Linked DNA regions of Homo sapiens: region 2 is linked to region 1. The links are contacts of gene promoters, found by promoter capture Hi-C in blood cells and fetal thymus (Javierre and others, 2016). All regions are on one chromosome and are shown on one strand. Each heading gives the region's core, a stretch centred on a gene start or on the middle of the fragment in contact. The rest is flanking DNA. Distances are from core to core; before and after follow the strand shown.

The links. The method cuts DNA at HindIII sites, captures the fragments that hold promoters and counts their contacts. A CHiCAGO score of 5 or more calls a contact.
Region 2: a fragment that was not itself captured here is called in contact with the fragment with the promoter of XKR3 in region 1 in 1 of 17 cell types (M2 macrophages); the score reaches 8.7 in M2 macrophages.

The regions. Positions count from the first base shown.
Region 1 is chr22:16,823,656-16,829,291 of GRCh38, forward strand. It overlaps XKR3 (XK related 3), which reads right to left and starts at 1,756. Exons shown (of 4, transcript NM_001386955.1): 1 at 1,636-1,756. It also overlaps the pseudogene HSFY1P1. The HindIII fragment of the contact is 7,309 bases long and covers 1-2,293 here.
Region 2 is chr22:16,862,643-16,868,050 of GRCh38, forward strand. No RefSeq gene overlaps it. Among named protein-coding and RNA genes, the nearest start is that of XKR3, 40 kb to the left of the region's middle. The HindIII fragment of the contact is 4,686 bases long and covers 1-4,507 here.

The sequences.
Region 1 (5,636 bases), core at 506-3,005:
ACATTTACTGTGAAACATTCAGAAAATACAAATTACCAAAAGAATAGAGTTTACCTATTGCTTAGTTTTCTCCAGCAATGGAGAGATCAATAATAATAAATCTGACACCAATTCAAAATATGAAACTTTAGGGTACTCAAGTACTAAAAGGTTTTTTTTTTTTAATGTAAACAAACTCACAGGTAACAGTGTCCAAAGTAGAACATTAGAAATGAGAGATTCTTGATGTAACAACAGGTCCAGGTGATGATAATTCAAGGCTGCTGAAACAAGTGAATGAAATCTTGAAGGGATCTTAATGATGAGAACTAATTCTTGCTTGTTGGAGTGATGAGACAAATGGTCCAAAAATTAAAAAACAAAACAAAACAACAACAACAACAAAATAATTTGTTGCTTGCAAATAGGCCCTAGAAGCAATATGAAACAGTCTTCAAATGAATAGATGAGAAAAATCGCATCTGACCTAATTAATTCAATGTCACAAAAAGAGAGACAATGTGTTATTTAAAGGGATGAGACAGAAAAAACACTCTTGTAAATAAAGAGAGAAGAGTACAATGAAGTACCCATTTCCACCTACGAGGAACGGGCATGTAAGAAAATACGGGAATCATGTGCAGATGATATAATTACTTATCTAGAGGCACCATAAAAATGTTTTTCCCCAAATAATGTCCATTAGGGATAAAATTTTAAGAAAGAAAGGATGTTACTTTTAAAGACAATTGTTAAATACCTAGTAAATAGAGTAAGTGAGTAAGAAAAGCAGAAAGAAAATAAGTTGCAGCTACCAGATACCCACAAAAAGAAAGAAAAGGGAAAAAGAAGGAATGGAGGGAGAGAGCACAAATGGAAAGAAAAAGGGTGGGAAGGAGGAGGGAGAGTAGAGAGAGAAATTACAGAAGTAGGCGAGGGGTATAAAGGAAAGCATGGAAAGACAACTGCAGAGACATCAGAGTTTCTGGGCCTCAGGATAGGGGAAAAATACATCCAACATTATAAGAAATATATCCCACTCTCTCCCCAGCAATCCATACATCGAATATGATATTAATGCAGATTGCACCTTTCTGGCTGCCCCAACCACTTCCTTCTCCTTTGGACTCACAGAAGGACCTCTATAATTTATTTCTGGAAAACACTTATGAAAATATGCACATATGAAAAGGGCCACAGAGTTTAGAAATGGGTCTTCCAGAGTCTAAAATTCAAGGTAGAAAGTGAAAGTGAAGTCACTGAACAATGGAATTTAGGCATGTGTTTGTGATTAAGTGAACTTGTTTCTTGTACTCACATAGCCAGTGCATCACTGCATCTGAATAACAAAAAATATGGTAGATTTCTGCCCCTTTGAGATTTCACTTAAATACGAAGCACTTTCTCCTTCTGATGTTTAAAAACATGCTGAAATTTGTAATATATTAGTAACAACCACTGTCCCACCCAAATGCTAAGCAGCTGCTTCTCTTCTCTGAAAATCAGAATCAAGAGAGGGAGTTTCTAGGCTCAAGACTCGGGAAAAGCCACCCCTGATATCCAGAGATTTATGTTAAGATCCCCAGCTGAGACAGGCAGAGGTCAAGGTAGGCTGAAGAAGCTGATCTGAGATGGTCGAGGGCTGCTCCTACTTACCTTGCCTATTTGCCACCCTCACAGTTTTGAAACTCGTTCAAAAAGTAAATGCTTTTGTTCACCTCTTTAACAGCACCATTTCTGGTCTCGTTTTCAACACTACGTCCTTTGCTTTGCAGGTAAAATTGCTTATTTTCTTGCCTTTTTATGACTAAAGTAGGCTTGCAGTTTGGAGTCAGGTGACTGCACTAGCTGAGTCATCTTCCCTTGAAAACACCAAGGCATTCTTCCTCCCTACAGAGTCACACATCTTAGTTCCCCAAAACGCTCAGCCACAATTTGACTTCGATTGTCCTACATTTAAGGTGATATTTTTCTGATTCTCCCATTAACTCCCTCTTCTCTTCGCACCCATGGCCCATCTTTTGCTGCTGTCTAGTAGCCATTCATCCCCTCCCATCACAAAAGAAGTCTGTACTTCCTTCAGACAGAGCAACAAGAAAATTCCCCAGAAAGCAAACAATTAAACAAATTTTAATTTTGCCTTTTTTAAATGAAAATTCTGTCAAAATTGATGAACCACATCTGGTAGGAGCACCTGTTTTATTTTCACAAAGAGTTTTCTGATCTGGACATTTTTGTTACTTACTGCTAATATGGAAAATTTTGAACTAAACAAAATACACCCCCAAAACTTAAACTATGTTAAACCAAGACAAGCTTCTAACAATGACACCTCTTTCCAGTATGAGAGAACTGCCTCCTACAGTATAAGAAATATCAAAATCATTATTTTTTTATTCCACACATATTCAACACTTAAAGCCAAGGCATTAGAATTTTAATATACCACCTCTCAAGCATGAACATATAAAAATTCTTACTGTAAATGGGGCATGATTATTTTTCAAAGAGAAGAAATATTTTATTCAATTCTAAGATTAATTCACAAATTTGACTCCTGTTTTATAATGATAACTTTACGTTGCAGGACACAGAGATTATTCCTTAAGAAATATTTTTTAAATAGATATTTGGCTCTTGGAACCAAATAATAAAATTTTCTGCTTAGACATACATACAAATTTACTTTACTTAAAACACTTTCTTGTTATTATTACATTTTTAAATCTCCCACTCTTTGGGATCTCCTTATAAGTAGGTCACTTGCTTTTAAAATCTTACATAATTAACATGTCAGATATTTACAGACATACCAAATGAAAGTATTATTTATTCTATGATATGAATAAAAAATGTTTTGAATAGATACATACATGAATAACTTTTTATTCTGAAATCTAATCAGTTTTATTCATATTTGATTTTATTTTAATTTTTTAAGGTATGTTTCACATAATACAAAATTACATTATTCAAAATTATATTATTAAAACATTTCTATCATCAAACAGGAAACCCCATTATCTACTTAACAGTTCTTTCTATTCCCCAGCCCCTGACAACCATTAACCTACCTTTTGTCTATATGGCCATGTCTTTTTACCATATATGTTTTACACTGCATCAGTTTTCAATCCAACATGCCAAGCTGAGAGAGTTTTTAAAATATTTATTTTTATTTTTTTGCACCGTCCAATTACCAGGCCCTATGCTCCTCGCACCAATCTAGTAAGACTGTGTGTGTCAAGGAGAAAATTATGTTTATTTCAGGGATTGAGGATATTAATTAATTTATTTATTTATTTATTTATTTATTTATTTATTATTTTCTTAAGACAGAGTCTTGCTCTGTTGCCCAGGCTGGAGTGCAGTGGCACAATCTCAGCTCACTGCAGCTTCCGCCTCCTGGGTTCAAACGATTCTTCTGCCTCAGCCTCCCGAGACCTGGGACTACAGGCACATGGACCACACCTGGCTAATTTTTGTATTTTTAGTAGAGACAGGGTGTCACCATGGTGGTCAGGCTGGTCTCGAACTCATGACCTCATGATCCGCCTGTCCCGGCCTCCCAAAGCGCTGGGATTGCAGGCATGAGCCACCATGCCTGGCCCTCCTTATTAATTTAAAAGATTCTGCAGGCATGAAACTTTTGCAGAATAAACTGTGTAAGTAATCATTCTATATTTTATTTTTACCAGATACATTTCTGAGACTGGAAAGTAAACAGTCTTGGCCAAATTTTTATGTTTGTTGCTAGGTGACCAAAGTCCTCTTGTGATGCCATTGCTACTCAGGTTGGAAACCACTGTGGTGATCTCAATTACTTTACCTGAGTAGACTACTGAAGCAGCATTTGAAGCTGCAGTCTTGAAACACATGCAGGCTGGAAAAGTCGCTAAAGAATTACTTATTTGAGATGGCACATGTTTCTGCAGAAACTCAAGATGTTTCTCCTAAAGATGAATCAACTGGTTCAAAAGCCTCCTCTGGGTCTCCATTGTGTGAACACATAATCCCTGGGGATTCAGACTTAAGGTCAATGACTGAATCAATGATTTTCAGGTTTTGCCACAAGGATCCTTGATAAAAAGGCCACATTATACTTTATGTCTCTGAGCCAGATAAAGATAATGATTTTCCTTCTCTGACCTTTCCCAGTAAACTTTGGAAAATAGCTGAAAGTGACCAATTCAAGTCTAATTCATAGGATAAGAATGAAACTTGCATAGTGACTAATGAAGAACTCTTCAAGAAAGAAAATTTGGAAATAAAGGCTCCTTACAGAATATTTCAAACTGACAGTATGAAAATCTTAATTTGACAGCTCAACCTTTATGGATTTAGTAAAATTCAACAGAATTTTCACAGATCTGCTTTTCTAGCCAACTTTCTGGCAGAAGAAAAAGAAATTTCTGTTTTAAGCAAGGTATTCAAAATATTTCAGTTACCACTTTGAGTATATATGTAATTTCATTTTATATATCAGTAACTATGTTAATACATGCAGTAAGATCAGATTTTAAAAATTATATCAAATATTAAGGTAAAAATTACTTAATTTTTTTGAAATTATTGAGTGCAGGTTGAGCATTAAACTTTCAGGTTTTAAGAAATGTTGCTAACAACATTCAGTCTTACCAGTGAACTCCAAATAAAGATACCAAAGCCACTTAGTGAAATGTTACTATTAAATGTATAACATGTTTTCACCAGAGGGCTTCAAAACTTGAGTGTTTTTTTTTCTCAACAAGCATGTTCTTAAAAATAGTAAACAATGTTCATTCATTATTTGATGATATTAACTTTGTGTGATAAAACAGAAATCTGAGATTGTATGGGTTATGTTTGTTATTGTTACTTGCCTCTTGGTTTAAAATGGCACTGAATTACCTTCTCCTTGGTTTTAGTTAAAGTTGTATTATCATCCGAATTTCAAACGTGGCTGTCCCCAACTTTTAATAAGAACGAAAAGAAGAATTAAGATTAAAAACACTTCTCTTGTATCTACTTCACTGAATATTTCAAGAAACACTTTAGAGCAGGGGCTAACACAGATAAACATAATTCTGTCTTAGCTGCTGAAACTAGTGAAGAAAGTTCATTTTCAACATCTACAAATTTAAATATGACTCTAACAAGGAAATCTTCTGTCAGCCAGGGCATTGCTGGTTCACCTGACCCAATTAGAAGTGGTTTCCCTCCTCTTCCATTTCAACCTCAGTTGGACAATCAGAACAAATTACAACAAATCAACATGCTATTTTAAATCAATTGACAAATATTCATATGCACTCTCATAGCACCGACATGTAAGCAAATGGCCACGTTGTGAATTTTGTTACAACCACAGCTTCTCAATACTACATCATATCTCCCTCCTTTGGGGCTGATAGTGAAACCACCTACTTTTTCCCACCAGATATCCTGAGGTATTAGCCAATGAGGCTCCTCATTCTAACCTGCTACCAGCAGGCAACCTGTGGTTGTAAATGACTGCGACAGCTGATACATCAGTTGCCTTTCGTTACAGGCCAGCTCTTCAACCATCTTTACTGGAAAAATATCACCCTAGTTACAACTGATCTTCCACCAAAAGAGTACCAGATTATGCATGACAACAGAGACTGAAATTTATGTTGACAAGAACATTAAAAATT
Region 2 (5,408 bases), core at 915-3,414, 39 kb after region 1:
CATAAAACTAGAAGAAGGCAAGAAATAACCAAAATCAGAGCTGAACTGAAATAAAGTGAGGCATGAAAAAACATACAGAAGATCAATAAACCACAAGTTTTTTAAAGACTAAATAAGATAGATAGAACACTAACTAGACAAACAGCAGAAGAAAGAGAGAATATCCAAATAAACACAATCAAAATTGACAAAGGAAACATTATCAATGACCCTACAGAAATACAAAAGACTCTGAGACCATTATGAACACCTCTAGACACACAAACTAGAAAACCTACAAAATGTGGAAAAATTCCTGAAAACACAGCTGCCCAAAATTGAACCAGGAAGAAACTGAAACCCTGAACAGACTAATAATGAGTTCTGAAATTGAATCAGTAATAAAATAGTTTCCATCTAATTTTATGATTTTGAGCAAGAAAAAGCCCAGGATCAGATGAATTCACAGCCAAATTCTACCAGACGTATAAAGAAGAGCTGCTGCTATCCCTACTTGAAACTATTCCAAACAATTGAGGAGCAGAGACTCCTCACTAACTCATTCTATGAGGCAAGCATCATTCTGATACCAAAGCCTGGCAGAGACACAACAAAGAAAAAACTACAGGCCAATATCCTTGATGAACACAGATGCAAAAATCCTTAACAAAATACTAGCAAACTGAATCTACCAGCACATCAAAAAGCTAATCCACCTTAATCAAGCAGGGTTTATCCCTGGGATAAACAAGCAAGGTTGGTTCAACATATGCAAATCAATAAATGTGACTTATCACATAAACAGAACTAAAAACAAAAACCACATGATCATCTCAATAGATACAGAAAAGACTTTTGATAAAATTCAACATCCCTTTATGTTAAAAACCCTTAATAAACTAGGTATTGAAGGAACATACCTCAAAATAATAAGAGCCATTTATGACAAACCCACAGCCAACATCACACTGAACAGGCAGAAGCTGGGTTCATTCCACTTGAGAACTGGAACAAGACAAGGATACCCACTGCCATCACTCCTATTCAACACAGTACTAGAAATCCTAGCCAGAGCAATCAGGCAAGAGAAAGAAGTTAAAGCATCCAAATAGGAAGACAGGAAGTCAAACTATCTCTGTTTGCAGATAACATGATTTTATACCTAGAAAACCCCATAGTCTCTGCCTAAAAGCTCCTAGATCTAATAAACAACTTCAGCAAAGTTTCAGGATACAACATCAAGGTACATAAATCAGCAGTATTTCTATACACCAACAATATCCAAGCTGAGTGCCAAATCAAGAATGCAATTTAATTCACAATAGACACATACACACACAAAAATACCAAGGAATAAAGGGAACCAGGGAGGTGAAAGATCTCTACAACAAGAAAACAATAATTACAAAGCACTGCTGAAAGAAATCAGAGCTGACCCAAACAAATGGAAAAACATTCCATGCTCAAGAATAGGAAGAATCAATATTGTTAAAATTGCCATATACTATCAAAAGCAATCCCCAGATTCAGTGTTATTCCTATCAAACTACCAATGTCATTTTTCACAGAATTAGAAAAAAAAACCTATTCTAAAATTTATAAAGAACTCAGAAAGAGCACAAATCACCAAAGCAATCCTAAGCAAAAAGAACAAAGCAGGAGGCATCACACTACCTCACTTCAAACTATACTATAAGGCTACAGTAACCAAAACAGCATGGTGTTTGTACAAAAACAGACACATAGACCATTAGAACAGGATAAAGAACCCAGAAATAAAGCCACACATCTACAGCTAACTGATCTTTGACAAAGGTGACAAAAATAAGCAATAGGAAAAGGACTTCCTATTCAATAAATGATTCTAGGATAACTGGCTATGTAGATGCCAGAATGAAACTGGACCCCTACTTATCACCATATACAAAAAGTAACTCAAGAGGGATTAAAGACTTAAATGTAAGACCTCGAACTATAAAAACTCCCGGCACTTTGGGAGACCAAGGCAGGTGGATCGCCTGAGCTCAGGAGTTCAAGACCAGCCTGGGCAACATGGTGAAACTCCGTGTTTACCAAAAAAAATACGAAGAATTAGCTGGGCGTTGTGGCACATGTGCCTGTGGTCCCAGCTATTCAGAAGGCTGAGGTGGGAAGATTGTTTGAGCCTGGGAGGTGGAGATTGCAGTGAGTCAAAATCTCACCACTGCACTCCAGCCTAAGGGACAGAATGAGACCCCACTCAAAAAAGAAAAAAAAATTCTGGAACTAGAGAGTGTTAAGAATGTCCTAAATGTCAGTGAATGATACACTTTAAAGAGCTTAATCTTACATAAATTTTTCCTCAATTTAGAAACTTTTTCAAATTCTTGAAAAAAAAAACTATGCAACATTTAAATATATACATAAACATAAATATATACTATAAACATTTATAGCATACATATGTAATCTCTCTGCCATTTTGGGCTACCTTACAAATAAGGCAGAAGCAAACACATAAAAATTAAATATACATATATATATACATATACACACACACATAAATATGCATATTTATAAATTTAGAAATAGAGAACATAGCTGACTATTCAAGGAAATATATATTTATGAGCATATAAATATATAGGTAACATACATAAATATATTTAATATAGAAATTTACACATATGTATGTAGCACTCTGCCACTCTGGCATACTTCGCTCATACAGGTGTCCTAAAGCAGCCTCCATACTTATTTTAAGTTTGGCCTAATGAGTTCTGTATACATAGCTAGTTGTAACCTAACTTAATGTGTAAAAATAACTGTAACTTAACCCAAGACTATAGTCTTATAACATGTAACTATGTCTTAGCCAATGAAAACAGCTGAGCCTTCAGCCAATCAGAGGCTGAAAGCTGCCAAAACATGACTATATGAGGTAAATGCCAACAGCAGCCAATCAGGCTGTTTCTGTGCACTTCTTTTTCTCTAGCTGTAAATGTAACCTGCACAAATGGTGGCATGGAGTGTTCTGAGCCATTTTTGGTGCAAACTGCTGCCTGATTCCTAAACGGTTTCTTTGCTCAAATAAACTCTGCTAAATTTAGCATATGTAAAGGTTTTTTTTAACAGATTAGTGTAGGAAATGCAATCTGAAGTAGAACGTCCATCAAACCCCAGAAGCATGGAGTGCCCAAGCACAGCGACCCACCAGGTCCATTGTGCACACAGATCTCTCACAGCAGCAGGGGTCCTGGGCAAGTTCTCTCTCAAATTTTGAAGCTCCAAGGATTTGTGTTTTGAGCTATGCATTTGTTTACCTTTGTAAGGGTTTTTATTTTTATTTTTTTATCCAGACTGGGTTTCGAAGTTGATTCTGAAATAATAAATAAAAGCTAAGTTTCATTTATTTATTTTATTTTATTTATTTAGTTTAAAGTAAATTTGTTGTAATTTTGTCTTTTGAGAGTTCTGGCAAGCTGGATGGGATCCACCTCCCAAGACCCCTTGAGGAATTCAGGAAAGACACTGCTGGCCCCTTTGCCCTCCTTCTGAGGTTGTACATTCCTCTTAGGCCAGACTCTGCTGTTTTTGCATTGAACCTTGATCCTTTTGGGTTTCGAATCCAGGGTTTTGTGCTATGAGAGGGCAAATAACCTTGGGGTGGGTGCCAGTGGCCAGTTTGTGCTGTGAGATGACATATGGCCTTTTGAGGTTTGGGTAGCTGATGAGTCATTGGTAAAAACTTGACTCAGTCCAGCATCAAATTGGATTTGATTGGTGAACTGTATTGGATCGACGTAAGAGGTCACTCAGTCTGATGATCAGATGGCAACTGGACTGGGTTCAGTAGATAGATAAGTTTGGCCTCCCTAAAGATAACCTAGAATTACAGTGGTGACAGTGGGGAAACACTTACAAAGGTAAACAGGTGCATGTCCTCCCAGTTACAACAACTGCAGGGATTGGGAGTACTTCTACTTGTGCATGCAAACTAAACACCCCTGTGCCCTAAGATGTCTGCCTTTTTTGCAAATAGCCAGGCCACTGGAAAAAGAATAGTCCACTTTTACAGCAGCCATCTCACGGGTCATCCCTTTGGCCTGGACTCTTTCCCCCCTAAGGGAAGCCCCCAAAGGCGTCGCTCTTGGGACAACTATGAACTAATCTAATTAGCCCTCCCTGTTCTTTCTCTCTCTCTCTCTTTGATCCTGCTTCTCCCATGGGAACCCCTCAGTTGACTGAAACCACTCTTTTCAAACGCTTGCTGCCACTTCTTTCTTATTGTCATGAACTTTGCTATGTCCCCAAAGTCTTACTAAGGGAAAATAAGCCTTTCTGACTTAATTTCCTGGTTGAGAAGAGAAGGGTGGCCAGTAGCCAGGCTAGTGATAGAATTAATTAAATATGCTACCGAATTGATTAATTCCTACAGTGTTAAAAGAGAAGCACTAACAACGCCAGTGACCATGTAACACGGATTTAAGCTACAAGTCATAGAACTGTGATGAGAAGCCTCAGCGCTGTAAAACAGAGGGTGGAGGAAAGCTTTTCCTCTCTCAAATGAGCTTTGCCGGGTATACTTCTTGAAGAATAGGAAGTTGAAGTGTTCAGGACTTTTATGTCTATTCTACTTTGGCTTAGTTTACATAATTCTTAGTTTATTAGCCTAGAAATGGCCAAGAAAACTTAAGGCTCAATAATTAGTTATAAATATGAAATATCCCCAATTTTTCAGATAAAAACAACTTATAAATGTATTTGTCTGTAAAAATTGTCTATATTTTTACAGAACATCTATTTCTTTCTTTTTTAAATTTTTATATATATATTTTTTTTTATTATACTTTAAGTTCTAGGGTACACATGCACAATGTGCAGGTTTGTTGCATATGTATACATGTGCCATGTTGGTGTTCTGCACCCATTAACTCATCATTCATATTAGGCATATCTCCAAAATCGATCGCTCCCCCCTCCCCCCACCCCACAACTGGCCCCGGTGTGTGATGTTCCTCTTCCTGAGTCCAAGTGTTCTCATTGTTCAATTCCCACCTACGAGTGAGAACATGTGGTGTTTGGTTTTTTGTCCTTGCGGTAGTTTGCTGAGAATGATGGTTTCCAGCTTCATCCATGTCCCTACAAAGGACATGAACTCATCATTTTTTATGGATGCATAGTATTCCATGGTGTATATGTGCCACATTTTCTTCATCCAGTCTATCATTTTTGGACATTTGGGTTGGTTCCAAGTCTTTGCTATTGTGAATAGTGCCACAATAAACATACGTGTGCATGTGTCTTTATAGCAGCATGATTTATAGTCCTTTGGGTATATACCCAGTAGTGGGATGGCTGGGTCAAATGGTATTTCTAGTTCTAGATCCCTGAGGAATCGCCACACTGACTTCCACAATGGTTGAACTAGTTTACAGTCCCACCAACAG